3 separate regions of the Homo sapiens genome follow, and all the other regions are linked to region 1. Evidence: promoter capture Hi-C in 16 types of primary human blood cells and fetal thymus (Javierre and others, 2016). All regions are on one chromosome and are shown on one strand. The core of a region is centred on a gene start or on the middle of the fragment in contact, and the rest is flanking DNA. Distances in the headings are between cores, read along the strand shown.

Region 1 (3,185 bases), core at 313-2,812:
CTTCCCGTTAGTGAGCTTCATGGAATGCAGGCAAATTTATCTCCATTTCTGTTGTCAATCTTGTAACTTTTAAGTGAGATGAAATTCAGTTGGCTACCCTTTACAGGGACTTTATTTCCCATTGTATTCAAGACTGTCAGCAATGAATATAAACTGTTTGTAAAAATCCCATCGTTAGAATCTTCCAGAAACTGAGGCTGGGAGAGATTAAATATCTTGCTCATGGCCTCACAGCTGGTGAGTGGCAATGCTGGTGCTACAGCCCATGTCTAACTCTGACCACACACTCTTCTTCAGAAAAAAGCCATAATGTAAATAATAATAAGAAGAATAACAACAACAATAACGGCAGCTAACACTGTGTGCTAGGCACCGTTCTAAGCTCTTTGCATGTGTTAACTCAACCAGCAAAGAACCATTTTTGGAACATTCTTTCACTAAAGTAGCCCGGTATTTTTTTCTTTCCCCTCAGCTGAATGACACTGCAACCCGAAATCACAACTCTGTTTTAGGTTCCTGGTGGTGCCTGCTTCCTCTTCTAGTTTGTTTAGTCACAGAATTCGATTCCTGTTGGCCCATTCCGCGCCTACAAACAGGCTTAGCGCTCCACTGAAATGCGGGAGGCTCCTTAACTCTTGTATAAACAGGTAAGGCGGAGGGGGTGGGGCGCGGATTGCGGACATCTGGGTTTCTTGGGAATTGGGATGGGGTGGGGGTTCGAGCCAACTCCCCAGAGAGCAGGCAAGGTGAAGCGAGGGCTTGGCTGCTGTTTCTAAATGCAGTGTTTTTTTGTTCCCTTTCTAGAAACCCTCCGTAACTCTAGGTCAGAGCGCACTAAAATGAGCCACTTCTGAACGAGCAGCGCCCAGGCCCCAGGCCCTGCTGCGAAGGCCCCGGCAAAGGTCAGGGCCCCGTCCGCGTGACGCTCCTGCCTGCGCGCGGCCAAGCCATGCTCGGCCCCAGGTAAGGACGCCCCGGGAGCTCGCCCCGGGAGCTCTCCCCGGGCACGCGGGGGTCGCAGAGATCCCACCTCGTCCAGCGACTTGTTTATGGGGGGAAGAAGGGGAGCGGGGCGGTTCCGATCGGCTTGAAATTCAGCAGCAGGTTCCTAATTTCTCCAACGTGGTTCTGGCTGGGTTTCTCGGAGCAGCCCGAAGGGGGCCGAGCGTCTGACTCGGACAGATGCCCCCAGGTGGAGCAGGTGCCACTTCTGGGTGTCTGAAAGGCATGTGACTTTTGGGGCGGGGAGAGAAGTCCGTCTGGTCAAGTCCCCCAATCTCTGCCATCAAGGCCGATTTTCTTTGAACCTTCAGCAAAGGTATCTGCGCTCCTAAAAAACAACAGGAATGTGGCACTGGCCTTTAGCCAGGGGAGGCTCAGCCAGCAGGATAAAATTTCAGGGCAGATTTACGGGAAGTTGCCGGTGTTGGGAGTAAAAATCTGGTTTGGTGAGTTTAAGGGAAGGGAGTAGACGAGAGACAACCTTGCTACTGTGAGGCGGATGGCCTCGGCAGGGGGCGGGCGGCGGGAGGAGAGAGGGAGGGAACCGGGAAGGGCCCGCAGACTAGACGCTGAGCGCTCCCGTGCGCAGCGCCCCACGCAGCCGGGACGCGGCGCCGCTCTGCGGGTGGAACCGCCGCGCGCTCCCGGCCTCGGGAGCTGAGCCCGAGAGAACTTCGCTGCCTTCGGGTCGCCGCTCCCGCTTTCCACTGTGGAATGTGCAGCTTGGGATAGAGAGAAACCAGGGTTTGGGGAGCGGTCCTCCTGGAGACTTTCTCTCTGCAAGTCTCCAAGGTTAAGCAATTCTGACCCACTGGAATTCCCAGAGCCTGGGAGTTAAGCCTAAAACGCTCTGTTGCTTTAAGCGGCGCGGTGGGGAGTCGCTGGACACTCCTTATTTTGGTTTTACATTAAAAAGAAGGCGGACGAGAAGATGTTGTAGGTGACTTCCTAGCTGTGTTAAGTTGCTCCTGGGCTGTGAATGGTGTTAATTTCTGAAGTGGGCGGCTCCAAAAACTTAACAAGGAAAGGTAAGGTGGTTTTTGGTAGTCCTTCTAACTATTGTCCCTTAATCTTACATTTGGGTCCCAATTTTTGAAGTGTATATTTTTTTCTTATTCTTCTCTCTTTAGCTCTTATCCCTCATGCTATCACTCATCTTCTGTCTCTTGGTATATTTAGTGGGAAATAAAGGGTTTATAAAACGGTTTTAAAAGGGTCAACCTCTGGGAAGGCAGATAATCATATACAGTCAGTCCCATCGTGTTTCCTGTAGTGATGAATCTTTTCCCATAAAAGAAACTGATTTTTTTTTTTCACTCTTGAAAATACATGATTGGACCGCCCAGAAGCACAGGTGACTTTAGACTCAGATTATTACAGTGAGACTGAGGAAGCGTCCTGGACAGGAGGCATCTCATTTAAGTGTTAACCAAGGCAGAGGGGGGTCTTCCTGCAGTAATTTACGTCTGAAAGTAACACTCGGTAGAGGTGTAGTTGTTTCAAATTAAAAATTCAGCCTGTAGAAAAGGGTAGGACTGACGAATTATGACATCTGACAAATTAGCAGTTGACCGGATATTTAAGAAATCAGATAAAATAAATGGAAGTGGAATTTTTCAAATAAATGACTCATTTTTTAATTAGGTAAAAGTTCAGCCACTCTTGGGTACTGTCCCAAGGCATAAGTGATAGGAAGATACCATCTTCAAGGTACTTACAGGCCATTACCGACCTGAACTAAAAATCAAACCTTTTTTTTTTATCTGGTGGTATTTTAATGACTCACTGTTTTCTTTAGCAGGAATATAGATTTTAAAATGTATTCTTTAAAAGTTTTAAGGCAAGGTCATACGAATTTCTCAGGGGAGGGAAAGCAAAGGGTTGACAACCCAACATGAAGGAGTTGCCGAAGTTTTGAGCTCAAAAGGTTGGCAATTAGATCCAGAGCATTTGAGAATTGCAGGTGCCGATTCTAAAAGGTGAAAGGTGGTCAGCGGCGTAACACACAACCTCTAGATAAACCAAAGTACTCAACCTAGAGCATAAGAAGAGATCACTTTGTGGGAGTTTGTGTTGCTATTAATTTAAACAATGATCTTTGTTAGATCAATGACTTGAAGTCTTGGAGGGAACTAAAATCAACCCAGTCTGAAAGGAAAACAGAAGGAAAAAAAGAAAGGAGG
Region 2 (3,185 bases), core at 442-2,941, 480 kb after region 1:
TTAAGCTTAACAAAAAGCAACAAAACTATTTGTTAAAATTATGTATGTTGAAAATATTCTCCATCTCCAAAGGCAAATTTAAGCCATTGTCTCATATTGGAAAATTATACCTTACCACATTATAACCTCCTTTACACAGGTTTAACTTGCATACTAACAGAATTTATTAGCTAACCAAACAACAGAAGTTAATGACAGCTTCCTTTGAGAAAGTTGGCTCTTTTTCAAAATAAAAGTGAAAATATTTTAAATTGTAAGGATTCTTCTTATGATTATAACCAAAATATTTTCTCTTTTTTTTCTTTTTTTTTTTTGGAGACGGAGTCTTGCTCTGTCACCCAGGCTGAGTGCAGTGGTGTGATCTCGATCTCGGGTCACTGCAACCTCCACCTCCCAGGTTTAAGCGGTTCTCCTGCCTCAGCCTCCCAAGTAGCTGGGATTACAGGCACACGCCACCACACCCAGCTAATTTTTGTATTTTTAATAGAGACGGGGATTCACCATGTTGGCCAGGCTGGTCTTGAACTTCTGACCTCAGGCGATCCACCTACCTCGGCCTCCCAAAGTGCTGGGATTACAGGCGTGGGCCACCACACCAGGCCAATTATAAACAAAATATTTTCTATATTTGTTTAATAGAATTTTAACCTACTGCAGTTTTAAAATTACATGCCTCAAAAATAAAATATAAGTATTTAGTACTGTCTGAAATACGACTTATACAGACAGTTCTAGAAGCATTTCGATAAGGCAGCAACATCTGGAAGATATTTAACCATTTCTTTTTCTCTGAAAACCTTTCTGTCTATAGAAAGTATAAAATTACAATATAATCTCAGACCCAACTTTCTTTCCATAAAATGCACACAGAAGAACAGAACAAAAGGTAAAAGATCAAGGTCATATACAAAGCAGAAGAAAGGGCAAAAGCATGTCTTCCTTCCTGTAGGATATGGCAAAATAAAAGCATTTTATGTGTTTAGTTTTGAAAATAAAAAATATTCAAGTGTTTTTGTTAGATCTCCTTTTTTTCTTTACTACCACTACTATGTCCTTTTTCCTCTTTTAATACCACCCTTTGGGGGGCATGAATCAGGTCTCAAAGCACTTTAAATACCTCTCACAAAAGACTTTTAGGACATTACTAAATGTCATACAACAATTAATACAAAGGTAACCTTTTCTGAGAAACAATCAGAGCATTTTAAACTTTAAAACTGTAGCTGATAATTTTCTTACATATTTTGTAATCAATAAAATTTCTCTGTAATATCTTTAACAGGTAACATTTGCATTTGATTCAGTAAAAAATCAAACCTCACTTGCATTTTGAAAAACATCATAATTTTTTTGTTTCATAATTGAATATTATTTATAATAAAACACATCTTTAGGGTAGAATTGACTGAATTACTGCAAATAAAAGTAATTTTAACCTACAAACCTTCATACTTCTAATTCAAGGATGTTTATTTTACTTTAGCATGACTTTCAAGCACCCTGGTTTAATTTCAGAGAACCTGCAGAAATGAGAAAAGAGTTATTTTAAAGATGAAAATTTCAAATTAGCTAAGGAATATACCTTGTAATCAATTCCAAGTACCTACGCTTAATATAATATTTACTACCAAAGTATTGACCCTTATTAAGTCAATATCCAAGACCAACATCTAGGTTTGTGTTCCTTTTATCTACGGTCAAAACAAATACAATCTTAAAGCTGGAGGTTGCTCTTGACTTAGTATAACTTAAGATTTGTCAAAACCTGTGAGGCCTGAATTTTACCTTTATGAAAAAGAGTATGCTGTAGGAAGAATAAAGTCCTTGGTGCATCATGAAAGCACCAAGAAGAAATCTCTGATATATCAGGTAAGTCTGATTAATCTGGCCATGCAATGCTTTCAACTCTATCCGGAGAGAATTTAAAGGAAGACTAGTCTCTAAAATAGATAATTAATCTCAACATAATGTTCTGGTCTAACTACTCCTTTTATAAAAATAACCCTGATGTCACCTGTTTTATGCTCATAACTTATGCTATCATTTTCGATAATGTAGCCAAATAACATCTTATTACATGGCATAAAATAAATATGCTACACTGAAATTGGTGGGTAGGAGTTAATGATACACATCTGCAGGAAATCTATCCATCAACAGATATTTCATCTTTGACTTTCTTGTCATTTTCTGTTATTAAATAATTATCACTTAATGAAAAAGAACATTTCATGTTTGTCAACACAGGTCATTAATGGCATTTAACTTATGAAAACACAAATAAATTCATATTAACTGAACATTTCTGCTAAAGTTTAAACGTACCTAAATTATAACTATATTTCAATAGAAGCCACCCAATTCCATCCAAAATCCACAAATACTGATTTCCTTTCAAAAGAATAATAGCAAATCTTAAAGTATGATACATATTACCTAATTATTTTGCATATTATCAAAGAAACAAATATATTTACTTTCTTTTAGAACTTTAAATTTATGATAGAAAGTTTTATCAGATGATTATTGGCAACAAACACATTTTTCCTTATTTCTGGTTTACCAGACAACATAAATCCAGCAGGGAAAGTTATATCATAATTTAAGCATGAATCTGTGGCTGAAATCAGATGATTAAATTTAGTTAACTATTTTAACAGATTGTTCTGAGTACGCTATTAGTGTTTATTTACCTAGCTATATTAGGGCTATTGCTATTATCAATAACAGAAATCTATACTCACAGAAATATCTGATAAAGATCTATATGGGCAGTTGCCATTATTAATAACAGAAATCTACACTCACCTGAAGCTATGGCTTATGAGGTACTTAATGACAGCTGGTTTGATGCGAGCAACTCCTCCCTGGCTGTGGTTTCCTCTCCCCGTAATCACAGACAAATAGGGCTTCCCACCGTTCTGCTTAAATTCTGTTACAACAGAAATCAGGGGAGTTAAAATTCATTTATCTTACATTCTCAATAGAAAACGTAAACCTTAGCTACTCAAGCACATGAAATTGTTTTCATGAGGATTTTGGGGTTTGCCATCTCAAAACTGTAATAGTAAGACAGATTTGCTATCTCAAAAAGCCCCCAAATTAATGTTTTAAGATGTATGTTTTAAAACACATAGCCTCATTGTAATCTATCCATCAAAAGATTTGGTGGGACTTCTTCCTTT
Region 3 (3,185 bases), core at 141-2,640, 440 kb after region 1:
ATATGCTGATTTATAGATGAGGTGTGTGATTGTCTTCTGAAAGTCACTCAAAACTAGAATTGATATGACTTGTCAATTCATAATCTGAACAGGTTAGCTCTCTTAAGTGAATAAAATGCATCTTAGGCTGGGCACAGTGGCTCACGCTTGTAATCCTAGTGCTTTGGGAGGCCAAGGTGGGAGGATCACTTGAGCCCAGGAGTTTGAGACCAGCCTGGGCAACATAGCAAGACCCCATCTCTACAAAAAAATAGAACAATTTTAAAAATAAATAAATAACTGTGTCATATAGTGACATATAACCAACACAAGGAAGTCAGGGTATGTCCTGAGTTGGAAAGTAAATGACCAGTGTCGTTTTAATTACATGTAGCCATTTAAATTTTTTTTTGCACAAATGTCCAGAATGTGTACAGATTTTTGGCTTTGGATGAATGTAGGCTTTGTTTGTTTGTTTTTAAAGATTCCATTTACAGTATTAAAAATGGTCAAGAAAATCAGCTTACCAGAACACAGCACACTCCTTAAGTTTTCCTTACTTCAAGAGAAATTTTATAGTTGACCTATTGGCAAATCAGGAATAATCTGGCTAAAGCTTTGGGAGGCCAGATTCAGATTAGCATATCCCTTCTTCCTCACCAATTAATTTCTTGTCTTGGTAGTATTCCCTGCTTAAGATAAATGATAAATGTTGAGTCAGTGAAGTAAAATTGTGAATTTCATTCACTTTATTACTGATGCAATTATCATGAAAAGAACCAGCTTAAAATATCTGTGTGAAAATGAGTACTTATTTATAAATTGCAATTGGGCCCATAGATAAAAAACAACAGTGACAACAACAAAATATGTCATCCAGATGAGACTTGATACCAGTTGGCATGACTTATCAGGAAAAATAGTCATGGGCTCAATGAAAGAGAGACAAGTATGGGCACGAGTCAACCATGTTCTTCTTGAAGGCAATGATTTCCTTTCTTTGATCCTGGTGGCTCAGTCCTAGGAAGCAGACAATATCAGCTCACTGCAAATCAAAAAATCTTTAATGACATGGGAACATGCTCACAATATACTGTTAAGTGAAAAAAGCAGGTTACAAAACGAATTTGGATTCAACTTGTTGTATACACACATGCCAATGTTTATAGAGGCAACCTCTAGGTCAGGGGTCCCCAGTCCTGGGGCTGCAGACCAGTACCCACCCGTGGCCTGTTAGGAACTGGGCCGCACAGCAGGAGGTGAGCAGTGGGCAAGTGAGTATTTCAGGCATGAGCCATGCTGCCCAGCCACATATTTCCCAAATGTTCTGTAATGAGCATCTATCATTTAGATGAACCAGATGAAAAGTTGTTGTTCCTTTTTTATTTTTCTTAATTTCATTGAGCAAGTCTACCTAAGTTTTCTCTATAAACCCTTGTCACTGCTTCGGTCACAATGTTTTACATAATAACCAGTGATTTTTATAGCAGTTGATTCTCAGGGGAGAATCACTGAACCACAGCTAAGCATAGCAAAGTCATCTTCCTCATTACTCAGCTTACATAGGATCATATTTAGAGGATTCCAACCCAATGCCAATTCAAACTTCCAGACAGACTCCAAAAACAAGGGATTCCAGAGGCTTTTGCATCAAACCTCTTAAAAGGCCTGTCTTAACTTTCCCTTAAAATGGAAATTATACCTGGGAAACACATCCTGGGCAATCTCAGTAGCTTTCTCTTCTCATGGGAAGATAAAGGAGTACTCAAAAATAAAAAAGTGAGGTTTCTGGGTAATTAATTCAGTGTCTGTGCTCAAAAAGAAAGAGGTAGTGGGAAATGCTTGAGGATCATTAGAGGAAAACATGTTTGTGACAAGTGCAGTCAAGGATTGCAAGGTCTGGTTTCAAACTAAGCCTGCTGCGTTCTCATTATTATTATTATTACCTAAATTATTGTAGCTGTGCATTTTTTTAATCATTTAAAAGAAAAGGAAGTAGTTTTGTAATTTCTCCTAAATGAGTACCTTCCTGCTTACATGGCATTTTAAATTACATATAAAATTTCAAGATTAGTCATAAACAAATGTTTTTTGCTTTTTTTAAAAACCACATAAACCTTTTAAAAAGTAAAATTTCTATTAAAATGTTTTTTTCCAAATAATAAGTTTAAGTTCTCAAATGTTTACCAAAAACAAAACAAGCTTTACAATTTTGAGCAAACCTATCTCTATAGTATTTATTATTCAAAATAGAAAATAAAATTGTTTTTGTTCTCTAATTCTTGTCTTTTAATCTTCTAAATATACAATAATGAGATTTCTAAAAATACTTTGAAAGGGTATTCACATTACTAAGTTTTCTTTTAACTTTAAATTTTTTTCTTTCAAATTCAATTTACAATAGCCTTTTATATTATCATTTATCACAAGAAAACCATAAAACAGCAAAAACCACTATTGCTATTATTAGCAACATCTTCACTTTGTAAATGAGAAAAGTGAAGTTCAGAAAGGTTAAGCAACTTACATAAGGCCACACAGCCAATGAGTAAGGGGACTCCCTGAATCAATTTACTTCTACAGCATTTCCCCTTACAGAAGACAAATTACTTTTCAAATTAATTCATTACAGGACAACAAGAGGCACACGTCGAATGGAAGGGAGACCTGAAAAAAATAGAGAAAAACTGTTATTTTTAAAGGGACATGGATTTATTATTACAAAGAGTAAGCTATAAAATTAAACTATCTGTACAGTAAAATCCCAATTTATTTTTTATTTTATTTATTTATTTATTTATTTATTTTTTGAGACAGAGTCTTGCTCTGTTGCCCAGGCTGGAGTGCAGTGGCGCAATGTCGGCTCACTGCAACCTCCGCCTCCCAGGTTCAAGCGATTCTTACGCCTCAGCCTCCCGAGCAGCTGGGATTACAAATGTGTGCCACCACGCCCAGATAATTTTTGTGTTTTCAGTAGAGATGGGGTTTCTCCATGTTGGCCAGGCTAGTCTCGAACTCCTGATCTTTGATGATCCACCTGCCTCGGCCTCCCAAAGTGCTGGGATTACAGGCATGAGCCACCATGCCCAGCCCAAATCTCAATTTAATATGAAAAAAATTTTTCACGTCTGAAAGGCAACAAATAATTAGACCCGATAGTAATAGTGACTGTCTCTGAATGGTAAAATTGGAGATAATTTTTTCAC

Evidence for each region. Contacts are between HindIII fragments. The CHiCAGO score rates a contact against its expected background, and 5 or more counts as called.
Region 2: a contact is called between a fragment that was not itself captured here and the fragment with the promoter of RBM47 in region 1, in 1 of 17 cell types (M1 macrophages). The highest score is 5.6, in M1 macrophages.
Region 3: a contact is called between a fragment that was not itself captured here and the fragment with the promoter of RBM47 in region 1, in 1 of 17 cell types (monocytes). The highest score is 5.3, in monocytes.

What each region holds. Positions count from the first base shown.
Region 1 is chr4:40,628,241-40,631,425 of GRCh38, reverse strand. RBM47 (RNA binding motif protein 47) reads left to right here and starts at 1,562. Exons shown (of 7, transcript NM_001098634.2): 1 at 1,562-2,030. RefSeq lists enhancers at 1,699-1,768, 951-1,828, 1,829-2,705. The HindIII fragment of the contact is 8,976 bases long and covers 1-3,185 here.
Region 2 is chr4:40,152,527-40,155,711 of GRCh38, reverse strand. N4BP2 (NEDD4 binding protein 2) reads right to left here. Exons shown (of 18, transcript NM_018177.6): 17 at 2,809-2,932; 18 at 1-1,520. The coding sequence ends at 1,475. Among named protein-coding and RNA genes, the nearest start is that of RHOH, 43 kb to the left of the region's middle. The HindIII fragment of the contact is 3,367 bases long and covers 8-3,185 here.
Region 3 is chr4:40,184,560-40,187,744 of GRCh38, reverse strand. It overlaps a transcript of N4BP2 not described here. Among named protein-coding and RNA genes, the nearest start is that of RHOH, 11 kb to the left of the region's middle. RefSeq lists an enhancer at 1,860-1,929. The HindIII fragment of the contact is 1,586 bases long and covers 598-2,183 here.